Linked DNA regions of Homo sapiens: all the other regions are linked to region 1. Evidence: promoter capture Hi-C in human tissues and cell types (Jung and others, 2019). All regions are on one chromosome and are shown on one strand. Each heading gives the region's core, a stretch centred on a gene start or on the middle of the fragment in contact. The rest is flanking DNA. Distances are from core to core; before and after follow the strand shown. Region 1 holds the start of C1orf167 (chromosome 1 open reading frame 167). Region 2 has its middle 7.9 kb from the start of MIR7846. Region 3 has its middle 21 kb from the start of UBIAD1.

Region 1 (3,945 bases), core at 1,104-3,603:
AGGGGGGCTCTGGGCCAATACCTAGAGAGGGCCCTGCTCCTGTAACTGCCCATCCAGGCCCACTAAGCCTCTTGCCTGGCTTCGGGAGCGCTGCAGGCTTTGGGGACACATTCTCCTTGTGGCTGGCATCAGACCTTAGCTCCATGGGCTCAGGGACAGGAGTATCCTTGGTCCACTCCACAGTGAGTGGCCTGGTCTGTTTAATCAGATGGGCCCTGCGGGGAGAGGACAGGTTGCCCTGGCTCTCATTCAACCCCACCCCATTCTGATCCCTACCTCCTCCCTTTAGCAGTACTCCTAGCTGCTCTTGGCCTGGTCCCAGCTGCCTGGGGCCTGCCCCTCACTGTTCTGGTCTCTCAGTGGCTCCTCTCCCTGCCCTACTTATCACCCCCCTTTCCATATTAAGTGTCCAGGTCAAATGCTGCCCCATCCTGCCCCCCAGACCTCTCGGCTGATCTGCATACAGGTCTGAACATGCAGGTCCAGCGACCTCCTCCACGCCTACCCGGATGTCTAACAGGCATCTCAGCATTAATATGTCCAAAACTGAACTCCAGCCGTCCTCGCAACCAGCTCTCTCCCATCTTGGTGCCCCCCTTTTCCACGGATGGCAGCTCCGGCCTTCTGGTGGCTCAAACAAAAATCCTGGAGCCACCCCGATTCCCCTTCTCCCTCACACCAGTGGCTGCTCTGACAGGCTCTGCCTCCCACACGCATCCAGGATCTGACCCCTGGAGCACTGGGCGGAGTGGCCCTCACCTGCCACCTCCCAACTGGTCACCCTTATTCTGCCTCGTCCTCACGCCCGACAGCCTCCTCTTCATGCGGCGGCAGGGTGATCCTGTAAACACTGAAATCAAATCATGCCCTGCCTCAACTCTAATGCCACAGAAGCTCTCCAGCCCCCTCAATGCCCCGTGAGCCTTCAAGGCTGTAGGCCAGAGGTTAGCAAATTACTGCCTGGGCCAGTGGTCTATTATGTGAATAAAGTTATATTGAAACAAAGCCCATTTGTTTACAGACTGTCTGCTTTCCAGCTGCAATAGCAGAGCTCAATAGCTGCAAGATACCTTAGGCTGCAAAACCTTTTTTTTTTTTTTTTTGAGCCGGAGTCTCACTTTGCCACCCAGGCTGGTACAATGGCGTGATCCCGGCTCACTGCAACCTCCGCCTGCCTCCCTGGGCTCAAGGGATCCTCCCACCTCAGCCTCTAACAAGCTGGAACCACAGGCACATGCCACCACGCCAGACTAATTTTTCTATTTTTTGGTAGAGACAGGGTTTCACCATGATGGCCAGGATGGTCTCGAACTCCTGACCTCAGGTGATTGGCCCGCCTCGGCCTCCCAAAGTGCTGGGATTACAGGCGTGAGCCACCACACCCAGCCCCGCAAAGTCTTTAAAATCTGGCTGCCAGTTATGGTCCTCCCCAATTCCTCTTCCCCTTGCCCACTGTCCTCCACACACACCAGCCCCCTGGCTGCTCCTCCAAATGGCACACACGACCTCACCTCAGCGCCTCTGTGCTGCTGTCCCCTCTGCCTTCAAGTCTTGCCTCCCACATCACAGTGAGCCCTCCCTGCCCACTGTCTCTCCAACTGCAGCAACCTGGCCTCTCCTCACTCTCTTTGCCCTGCACTTGCGGCCACCTAACATAGTGAAGAAATTAGTGTATTTCTCCCTCCAGTGGCCTAGGAGCCACACGAGGGCAGGCTGGTTTTTTTTGTTTGTTTGTTTCCCTGCTGGATTTGCAGCCCATAGAACAATGCCTGACCCCCAGCAGGGGCTTGTAAATGCACATTGAATAAATGACAACCGTGCTAGGCACCTTGCAGCCTTCAGCAGGCGTCCTGCCATTTAATCTGCACTGCAGCCCTGGGACTTAGGTTCCCTGTTTTAGAAATGAGGACAGGAGCTTAGAAGGGCCTGTCCCACCCAAGGCCTCAGAGGGAGCACCCCAGGGCTGGCTCCACAGCGCAGACTCCTAACCAAGAACACCCCACCATCCCCTCTTGCCCAAGTTGACTTGAGGCCGCTCAATCCACAGGAGACCTTCCTGCACCCCTGCCCCTCACGCCGGAGCTCTTCGGTCCATTTCTCCGCTCCTCGTCCGTCTCCCTCAGACTCCCCCCTCCCACTCCACCCCCACCCCTGTCCACTTAAGGGGGCTCACAGCCTCCCTCCTCTTGCCACCAAAAGAGTCTGAGGTCAGTTTCCTGCCCTCATGGATCTGCCCTCACGTGCGTGGGTCCTCCTCGGGTCCTCCTTCACCCAGTCGGATTTGAATCTAGACGGGGGCTGGGACCGCTAACGATCCCCGCAGGTCGGCAGGTCGCGGGCGGGAGGGGACGTCGGAGAGCAGAGCGTGCTGCCCCGCGCTTGGCCCCGCCCAGCCCTGAGCCGTGGGCGTGGCCACCGACGTCCTGGTACAGGTTTTGCCGGGTCCTCCGCAGGCAAGGCACGTGGTCCCAGGGCAACTTTTGCACGTGCAAGATGAGCGACATTCTCTTGGCCATCAGGTCCCCGGGAACCTCCTCCACCCTCTGCCCCGAATCCTGTGGCAGCATCACTGGGGTCTGGGCTTCCTCCACCAGGCGTGCCTCCTCTTGGCTCCTTCCCGCACCTAGAGCTGCCTCCTGGAGCCCCCGCACATCTGGGATACCCCCAGCCATGTCCCCACCACCTATGCCTCTTGGGGCTGCAGGACATGCCCCCGGCTCCCACTGGTAGGAACCCCAGGGGCAGGACATCCGGGTCATGGACACTCACATCCTCACCCGTTCCCAATAGGTGCGATGTCCCATCCAGGGATGTCTCAGATGCAGCTGGCAAACCATGGCCCTCATGGCTGAGGACACACCCGTGATGGGACCCCAGGATCTGGGGGGCAGCCACCACCCTGATCACCACCTGGAATGCCTCATCCTGGACCTCCTCCAATGAGCATGTCCCCCAAGGGGTCTCGGTCTGGATCTCCCATGGGTCACTCACGTCCTATGCCTCCATGGTATGTGTGGACCTCCTCCACCGATGCTGCCTCATGGATACACTGGCCCTCCCCAACACCCACCCTATGGCTTCCGGGGGGGACTCTCCCTCCACCCAGACCCACTCCGGGGCCTCCAGTTCCCCCTCAAGGCCCACTTTGGGGCCCTCTCCCTCAGTAAATTCACATTCTTCTTCCTCCTGTTATATCTTCCCAATATCTTTTTGATTCCTTGGACCAGAGATGCTGCAGCTCCTTGCAACTAAGGCACAAATCCCTTTCAGCCTTCCCATCTTCCTTTTTAATGCCATTTTTTTCCCCATAGAAGGTATTTCTTTTTCATGTTGGTCCTAAGTATTTTGCAAATGCAAAGGAAAATAAAACTATAACAAATTTCTTGTTAAAAGAAAGAAAGAAAGAAAGGCTAGGCACAGTGGCTCACACCTGTAATCCCAGCACTTTGGGAGGCTGAGGTGGACGGATCACAAGATCAGGAGTTCAAGACCAGCCTGGCCAACATGGTGAAACCCTGTCTCTACTAAAAATACAAAAATTAGCCGGGCATGGTGGCGGGCACCTGTAATCCCAGCTACTCAGGAGGCTGAGGCAGGAGAATCACTTGAACCTGGGAGGCAAGGGTTGCAGAGAGCCAAGATCCTGCCATTGCACTCCAGCCTGAGCAACAGACCAAGACTCTGTCTCAAAAAAAAAAAAAAAAAAAAAAGAAAAAAAGAAAAGAAAAGAAAAGGCTGGATGTGGTGGCTCATGCCTGTAATCCCAGCACTTTGGGAGGCCGAGGCAGCCGGATCACTTGAGGTCAGGAGTTCAAGACCAGCCTGGCCAACATGGCAAAATCCCATCTCTATTAAAAATACAAAAAGTAGCTGGTGTGATGGTGTGCACCTGTAATCCCAGCTATTCAGGAGGCTGAGGCAGGAGAATTGCTTGGACCTGGGAGG
Region 2 (4,190 bases), core at 507-3,006, 400 kb before region 1:
GCCTGACCTGTGGGAATGATTGCCCAGGTAGAGGGGTGCACAGTTTGCCCTTTATGCAGAGCCTTTTCCTGACAGGAAATTCTCCTTTTCATCCTACTGCAAAGCACACTGCTGTATTTTACACACAGCAGTAACATTTTTTTTTTTTGAGACAGGGTCTCACTCTGCCACCCAGGTTGGAGTGCAGTGGCGCAATCACAGCTCGCTGCAGCCTCAACCTCCTGGTCTCAAGTGATCTTCCCACCTCAGCCTCCTGAGTAGGTGGGACCACAGGTGCATGCCACCATGCCTGGCTAATGTATTTTTTGTAGAGACGGGTTTTCGCCATGTTACCCAGGCTGTTTTCGAATTCCTAGGCTCAAATGATCCTCCCACTTCTGCCTTCCAAAGTACTAGGATTATAGGTGTTAGCCACCATGCCCAGCCTTTTTTGTTGTTGTTGTTGAGACAGAGTTTCGATCTGTCGCCCAGGCTGGAGTGAAATGGCTTGATCTTGGCTCACTGCAACCTCCGCCTCCCCCAGCTTCAAGCGATTCTCCTGCCTCAGCCTCCCAAGTAGCTGGGATTACAGGTGCCCACCACCATGCCTGGCTAATTTTTTGCATTTTCTTTAGCAGAGACGGGGTTTCGCCATGTTGGCCAGGCTGGTCTCAAACTCCTGAGCTCAAAAGTGATCCACCCACTTCAGTAGCCTCCCAAAGTGCTGGAATTACAGGCATGAGCCACCATGCCCAGCCTTTTTTTTTTTTTTTAAGTTTTCTTCTAGTTACACTTTATCTTATTATTTTTAATAGTAGAGAAGGGTTTCACTATGTTGCCCAGGCCAGTCTCAAACTTCTGAGCTCAAGTGATCCACCCACCTAGGCCTCCAAAAGTGCTGGGATTACAGGCCCCACTACACCCAGCCTCCCAGCAGTAACCTTTTTAACCCTACATTATCTTTGTTTAGATTTTTTTTTTTAGAAATTAAAAAAATTAAAGCATCATATAAAAAATCCATATTCCACTACCCAGAACTGACCAGTGGTAACAGCCAGGGTTGCCCTCACTCCTCCCTGAGCCCGCTGGCCCGGCCGCCCTTGCTGGAACACACAAAGCATTCTCCCACCTTGAGGCCTTCGCACTGGCAGTTCCCTCTGCCTGGATCACCTTTCCTCCAGATACCTGCATGACTCACTTCCCCTTATCAGTCTCTGCTCAAATGCCACATCCTCAGAGAGGCATCCCTGGCACCCCGCCCCCGCCCCCCCGCCCCCAACCAAAATAGCTACTTTACTTTTCTTAATAGCAGTTGTTATAATTTCTCTTTGGATCTGTTTATCATCTGTTTCTCCCATGAAGGCAGGGAACTTGTCTGTTTTGTTTTGCTCTCTGCTGGGTCCCCAGCAGCTAAGAAGCTGCACAGATATCAAATATATATATATAAAATGTGTGTGTATATATATACATAAATTTTTTTTTTTTTTTGAGATGGAGTCCCGCTCTGTTGCCCAGGCTGGAGTGCAGTGGTGTGATCTCAGCTCACTGCAACCTCTGCCTCCTGGGTTCAAGTGATTCTCATGCCTCAGCCTCCCAAGTAGCTGAGATTACAGGCATGTGTCACCATGCCTGGACAATTTTTTTTTTTTTTTTTTTGAGACGGAGTCTCTCTCTATTGCCCAGGCTGGAGAGCAATGGCGCGATCTTGGCTCACTGCAACCTCCGCCTGCCAGGTTCAAGCCATTCTCCTGCCTCAGCCTCCTGAGTAGCTGGGATTACAGGCATGTGCCACCACGCCTGGCTAATTTTTGTATTTTTAGGTAGAGACGGAGTTTCACCATGTTGGTCAGGCTGGTCTCGAACTCCTGACCTCGTGATCCGCCCGCCTCGGCCTCCCAAAGTGCTGGGATTACAGGCGTGAGCCACCTCGCCCGGCCTTCAATTAGATATTTAAAAAAAAATAGTAGGCTCTCAGTAAACATATGTTGATTATTTTTTGCTTCAAATACTTTTATAATTCAAATGGAAATCCTTGACACCCAGCCAAAGTTGTAGTCCCCTTGATTCAGCCCCCAAAAGAGCAATTCCTCTGGGTTTGTGGTGTTTCTCACCAGTCCGTTTTCTGCTTCCACACACCAATGTAGAGTGTTATTCTAGATACACGCGTCTACATCTACACAAACGATGAAACACCAGGTGCGCCGTCCTGCCCCTTGCTTTTTTCCCCTCGGCTGTGTTTCTGAGAACTTTCCATATTGATGAGTTCAGATCCGCTTATTGTTTCTACCTGCTGCTGCTGCTACTCGGTGCTGCGCCTGCCCGGTGCCTGTCTCACACCTTGCTGCCCCGCTCCCCTGGAATGGGCCTTTGGGGTGTTTGCACTTTGGCTCCACTGCACACACTGAGATGCGCGTTCCTGCATCTGTCTCCCAATGCCCAAGGTTGAATGTTTCTCAAGGTCTTAAACCTGGAAAGTAGAACTGCTGGGCAGTGGCAGGCCGTGGGTTTGCATGTTTTCATTTTCACGGGGCCCTGCCAAATTCCTCTCAGGGGGCTGCACCCTGGACACTCCTGCCAGCAGCGTGTGAGAGTCCCAATCCCCACATCTGCAGCGGGGCGGGGGGCGTTTGATCTTGTCAGTGGGTTTCCTTTTACAGCCCTTTGTATTTTCAAAGGGCTTTCAATTCTCCCTTTCAATTCTTTTCAATTCTTTCAGCCTCATCGTGGCCCTGCCAAGTGAGTGTTACCCTTTCCAGGATCCTGGTCTCTCCACTTCTAACTCCCAACCCGTAACCCCTCCAAACCCACTCTCTGTCCCCCTTCCCCAACCCCCACTTTCCAAAACCCACACCCCACCAAAACCTCCCCATTTCACTGGTCTCTCCAAGTAGCAGCTGGAGCCATCTGTGGACCACAATTTTCTAGACAAAGTCTCAAACATAAGCAACAGCTGCCTTTCCACCATATATCCTATGAACTCTGGCCTCAGTTTCCCCACTGGCCCTGAGTTCCCCTCTTTTCCTCTTTACAAACAAGGCCACTCTGGCCTGGGGAGGAACGTGATTCCCCTCATCTGGTCCCTCCTCCTCCCACCCCCTTCCTCTTTTTTGTCAATAAACCTTAGGTATTTCAAAATTTGGGGGCGGGTCTGAATGGAATCTTTTTTTTTTTTTTTTTTTTCGTAACTTCTCTCTCACTCTCATATTTTGGACCTCAGGTACAGAGAGTTGAGTGAATCATACTGCACAGATCTTGCTGTACAAGGTTCCTCTCTGGCCTGATTTTTTTCCTCAATCCCTGTTCTCATCCTCCTCTGCACCTCTCCAACAATCAGTGTGTCCTTATAAAACATGTGGTGGCGTTTGCAGGTGTTTGAATTTCTCTGGAGTAGGACTGCTGGATCGGGGAGTATTTGTTTACCTATTTCACTAACACTGCCAGAAATTTCTCCAGGACTGTGTTCTTGATGTAGAAGCTGGTTTTTAAAAAAGAAAAGAGAGAATTTCTCCAGGATGACCACCCCAGTGATGCCACCACTGTCAGGACTATAGGGTTTCTACCACTCTCTTGCCCCCACACTCGTGATTAGCCAATGTTCTGATTTGGGCCGATCTGATGGGTGTGAAGTGGAGCCCGGTGTCATTTCATTTGCATTTCTCTGAATATCCGTGGGTTTGAGCACCTCTTCATTACTTGTTAGTCATTTGGGTTTTCCCTTCTGTGAACTGCCTATTCACATCCTTTGACCATATTTCTATTATTTCCTGTCTTTTTCTTGTAGCTTTGCAATAATTCCTTGCATGCGCTAGATATCAATCCCTTGTCATTTTTAGATATCACAAATACTTCCTCCACTCTGTCGCCTATTTGGTATCCTTGCTGATGGTGTCCTTTATTGTTGGCAAAAAAATTCTTAATTTTAATGCAATGGAATCCATCAATGTTTCGCCATTTGAATTGCATTTGAATTCCCTACTTATGGGTAATGAAAGAAAATATAGAAAAGTATCATCATGACCTATAGGTAGAGCTACTCATAGGTTATGAAGATACTTTTTTATATTTTTCTTTCATTAGCTTTATAATTTTCCATCTCATGTCTAGGTCTTTAATACACTGAGACTGTATATGGAGTATAAAGTCTGGAGACTAACCTTTATTTCTGTCCATAGAGTGAGCCAGTTTTTCCTAAACCATCAGCCAAACAGTCC
Region 3 (3,780 bases), core at 727-3,226, 470 kb after region 1:
CATGTAGCTTTTGCTATTAGTTCACTGTGTGTCCTCAAAGGGCAGGGGTGTGCCTCGTTTATCTTGCCTCCTGGGACAGAGCAGGCTCTCAGTAAAGGTCTTTGGCCAAGGCAAGTGTCAGCTGGAAGGCCCTCATTGGTGACCATGGTGACCTCTGACCCCCTCAGCACTTCCCCTGAATCTGAGGGCCTCCCACCTGGTATTCCCTTGGCCTCAATGTGGCCCAGGGCTGAGGGGCTCCCCTGACTCGCAGGAGACTTGGGCTCAGCGCTCCTGCTTCACGGGATGCTTTCCCTGGCCTTGTCTCTCCAGGCCATTCATCTTGATTAGGTATTGGCAGCTGTGGATGATTAAATGCCCCGCCATTCTCTCTTGTTTGTTTCTCAGCAAGGAAGTGTCGGAGTTTTCATTCTGCAGAAGGCTTTGACCTTGGCAGTGGTCAGAGTGCCCTTGGCACACCTGCCTCAATGCTCCAGTTGTCTAACTGCACAGCCAAAAGAGGCTGATTAAGGAAAACTTCGAGTCTTACTCTCTCAGGCAGCAACAGGGGGGCTTTCTCCAGCTGGGGGAATTGAGCTGTCCATCAGCACCTCGGTTTCCATGGAACAGTCACCTCTTATGGCCACCTCTTCCTAGAAACCTTGATCGCCGCTCATTGTCACCTCTTCCTGGAAGCCTTCCTGATACCCAGCAGCCCCATCTCTACCTTGATGTTCTGTGGTCGTTGTTTATTCTATGGTTCACGTGTGTCAACTTCCTCTCCCTCCACACAGCACACTGAACCCGAAGAGTTGAGTATCCTGTGTCCTGAACATGCATACAATTGTCAGCTCCAGATGCTGCCCACCCCGAGGCAGGAAGGGGCTCACTTCCCTCTCCTCGAAGGTGGCCAGCCCCATTCTCAGGAGGCAGGTCTAGAAGGCAGGTCACTAGGCAGTTTCTGGGAGCTTGAGCACTGGCTGCTCCTGATGTGGGCACTCTGCTTCAGTGGCTAGATGAGGACTGGAAGAGACGAGACGAATGAGGACAGACAGATGAGGGGACAGGAGCATAAATTTAACCTGAGACTGAACCTTCGCCTCCATCATCGTGGGTAGGCAGGAGCCACTCTCCATTATCTGGGGATGGGCAGACTTTGACTTGTAACTTTCGCCCAGCCAGCCAGAGTAGGTTAGACCAACAAGCTTAGTTACTATCCCCACAGAGCTGGCCCCTGGGGGTGTTGGTAGGAATGCCACCAGCCAGGAAGCAGCCATCCCACCCTGATGGGAACCACCTCTGTGGCACTGGCACATGGGCCACCTCTGTAGGCCTATAGCTGGCCCCAACACTCACACACTTGGGAGCGGCTAAGGGCAGACCAATGGATTGAGTCCCTTACAAGCAAGGAACTGCAGGGCAAGAGAGATGAGGGGCAGTTTGTAGTGAAGGCTGGGTGTGGTGGCTCACACCTGTAGTCCCAACGCTTTGGGAGGCCAAGGTAAGACTGCTTGAGGCCAGGAGTTTGAGACCAGCCTGGCCAACATAATGAGACCCTGTCTCAATTTTTTAATTAAAAATAATAATAATAAAAGAACTTGCACTGAATTAGAGCAAGATTTGAATCATGGTTCTATCACTTACTAGCCAGATGACCCTAGACAAGTTTAATAATCTCCCTGAACCTCAGTTTCCTCTCTTATGAAAAAGAGACCTTAATATCCAATTCGTGGGGTTGTTATGAGCACTAAAAGAATGTATTTAAGCATCAGAACAGTGCCTGGTCCATAGTGAGCATTCAACAAATGACAGCTTTATTACTGCCATTCCCTCGGCCAGTCATCCAACGTTTATTTATTTAGAGACTTCTACGTGCCAGGAATATGAGCTGGATCTTAAAAGCTCTTAAGAGTACTGCCATGGGGCCAGGCACAGTGGCTCATGCCTGTAATCCAAGCACTTTGGGAGGCTGAGGCAGGTGGATCACCTGAGATCAGTTCGAAACCAGCCTGGCCAACATGGTGAAATCCCGTTTCTACTACAAATACAAAAATTAGCTGGGCATGGTGGTGGGTGCCTGTAATCCCAGCTGCTTGGGAGGCTGAGGCAGGAGAATCGCTTGAACTCAGGAGGCAGAGGTTGCAGCGAGCCGAGATCGTGCCATTGCACTCCAGCCTGGGTGACAAGAGCAAAACTCCATCTCAAAATAATAATAATAATAAGTTACTGCCATGGTTCTCCTCTACTCCCAACCCCAAGTGGAACTCACCTGTCCTTACTGACAGCTGATGTGATGCAGTGGTCCAAACTCTCACACCTGTCAGTCAGCCCTGGAGGGCCCAGCCCTTCCCATGTAACTCAGTCATTCAACAACCAGTTACTGACTGCCTGCTCTGTTGCACCATGCACTGTGCTAGTGCTGAGATGGGCTGGAAAAGAAAACATGGTCCTTATACTCTAGTCCTACCACTTACTGGGAGAAATTGACAATAAACATGTTGGCAAAATAATAGGTGAGTAACACATGCTATGCTTTTGTCTTCCCTGTTAAACCCATTTGTGATCCTAATGGGAGGCAATTCTAAGCCAAGCTGGGGGAGACAGGGGCCAGGATATGGCAGGACCGTGGGAGTGCGGAATTTGGAGGACCCCTTGAATCACACCACACAGAGCCCTGCCCCTTGGGATCCCTTAACATCATAGAAGCGCCCAGACCAACTTGTGATACCCCACTCAGCCTGGTTGGGAGCATGTGATCAAAGCCCTCACTGTTCCTCCCAGAGCTCCAGCATCTTCTGAAGTGAGTCTGTGCCTTGCAATTACAGCCTTTCCCTGACCCCAGGAAGCCGTTTGCAAGCCTCCTGATGAGCCCAGACTCAGCCTTTGCCCCCTCCTCAGGCAGGAACCCAACTTGGTTTATACCACCATTTGCCATCCTAGCTTAGTCACTCACAGTGGGAGGGCTGTCCCAGTTTGAAGAAGGGCAGGTCACAAATGTCAACTGGCTGGAACCCAAGTGCCAGGTTCTTGCCAGAGGCATTCCTTTTACACCAGCCTGCACAGTCTGGAGCCCATAATGAAAGAGGCTGACAGTCCATTAGCAGCAGAGTGGTCCGCAGGGCTCAGAGAGGAGCTGTCATCCCTCTCACTTCAAGGGCTTTCGAGGTGAAATCAACTCTGTGAGTGTGTGTGTGTGTGTGTGTGTGTGTGTGTGTGTGTGTGTGTGTATACATAAAATCTTTTAAAAAAAGAATATCAATCACAGCTGTTCCTGTTAAGATGGCCAGACAGTCAACAGTCTGACATCAAGAAGAAATGTCAACACGGCTCTTGTACTCTGTCCTCCCAACCCGTGGGGCAGGTCTGAAAGACTATCCCGTAATAACAGAACAACTGAATCACAGGATTGGAAGACCCTTAGAGGTCTTCTCATCCAACGCCTCTCTGATGCGACTCTTCACACCCATGTTCCTGACGAGGAATCATCTTTTCGCTTGAATGCCTCTAGTCACAAGGAACTCACCCCCAACTGAGACATTCTGAACATCCCCCTCGCTGATTCCTCTAATGGCTAAGAAACCTTCCTGATCTGGCCAGGTGTGGTGGCTCAAGCCTGTAATCCCAGTACTTTGGGAGGCCGAGGCAGGTGGATCACCTGAGGTCAGGAGTTCAAAACCAGCCTGGCCAACATGGTGAAACCCCATCTATACTAAAAACACAAAAATTAGCTGGACATGGTGGCACACACCTGTTAATCCCAGCTACTCAGGAGGCTGAGGCAGGAGAATCGCTTGAACCCTG

What was found. The method cuts DNA at HindIII sites, captures the fragments that hold promoters and counts their contacts. A contact is called where the count stands out against the background at its distance.
Region 2: a fragment that was not itself captured here is called in contact with the fragment with the promoter of C1orf167 in region 1 in 1 of the 25 tissues and cell types used here (spleen).
Region 3: a contact is called between a fragment that was not itself captured here and the fragment with the promoter of C1orf167 in region 1, in 1 of the 25 tissues and cell types used here (mesendoderm cells).

What each region holds. Positions count from the first base shown.
Region 1 is chr1:11,760,601-11,764,545 of GRCh38, reverse strand. C1orf167 (chromosome 1 open reading frame 167) reads right to left here and starts at 2,353. Exons shown (of 21, transcript NM_001010881.2): 1 at 2,241-2,353; 2 at 76-215. The coding sequence starts at 145. It also overlaps the pseudogene LOC101060126. The HindIII fragment of the contact is 8,265 bases long and covers 1-3,945 here.
Region 2 is chr1:12,156,971-12,161,160 of GRCh38, reverse strand. No RefSeq gene overlaps it. Among named protein-coding and RNA genes, the nearest start is that of MIR7846, 7.9 kb to the left of the region's middle. RefSeq lists an enhancer at 1-337. The HindIII fragment of the contact is 9,635 bases long and covers 1-4,190 here.
Region 3 is chr1:11,292,095-11,295,874 of GRCh38, reverse strand. It overlaps a transcript of UBIAD1 not described here. Among named protein-coding and RNA genes, the nearest start is that of UBIAD1, 21 kb to the right of the region's middle. The HindIII fragment of the contact is 6,178 bases long and covers 1-3,780 here.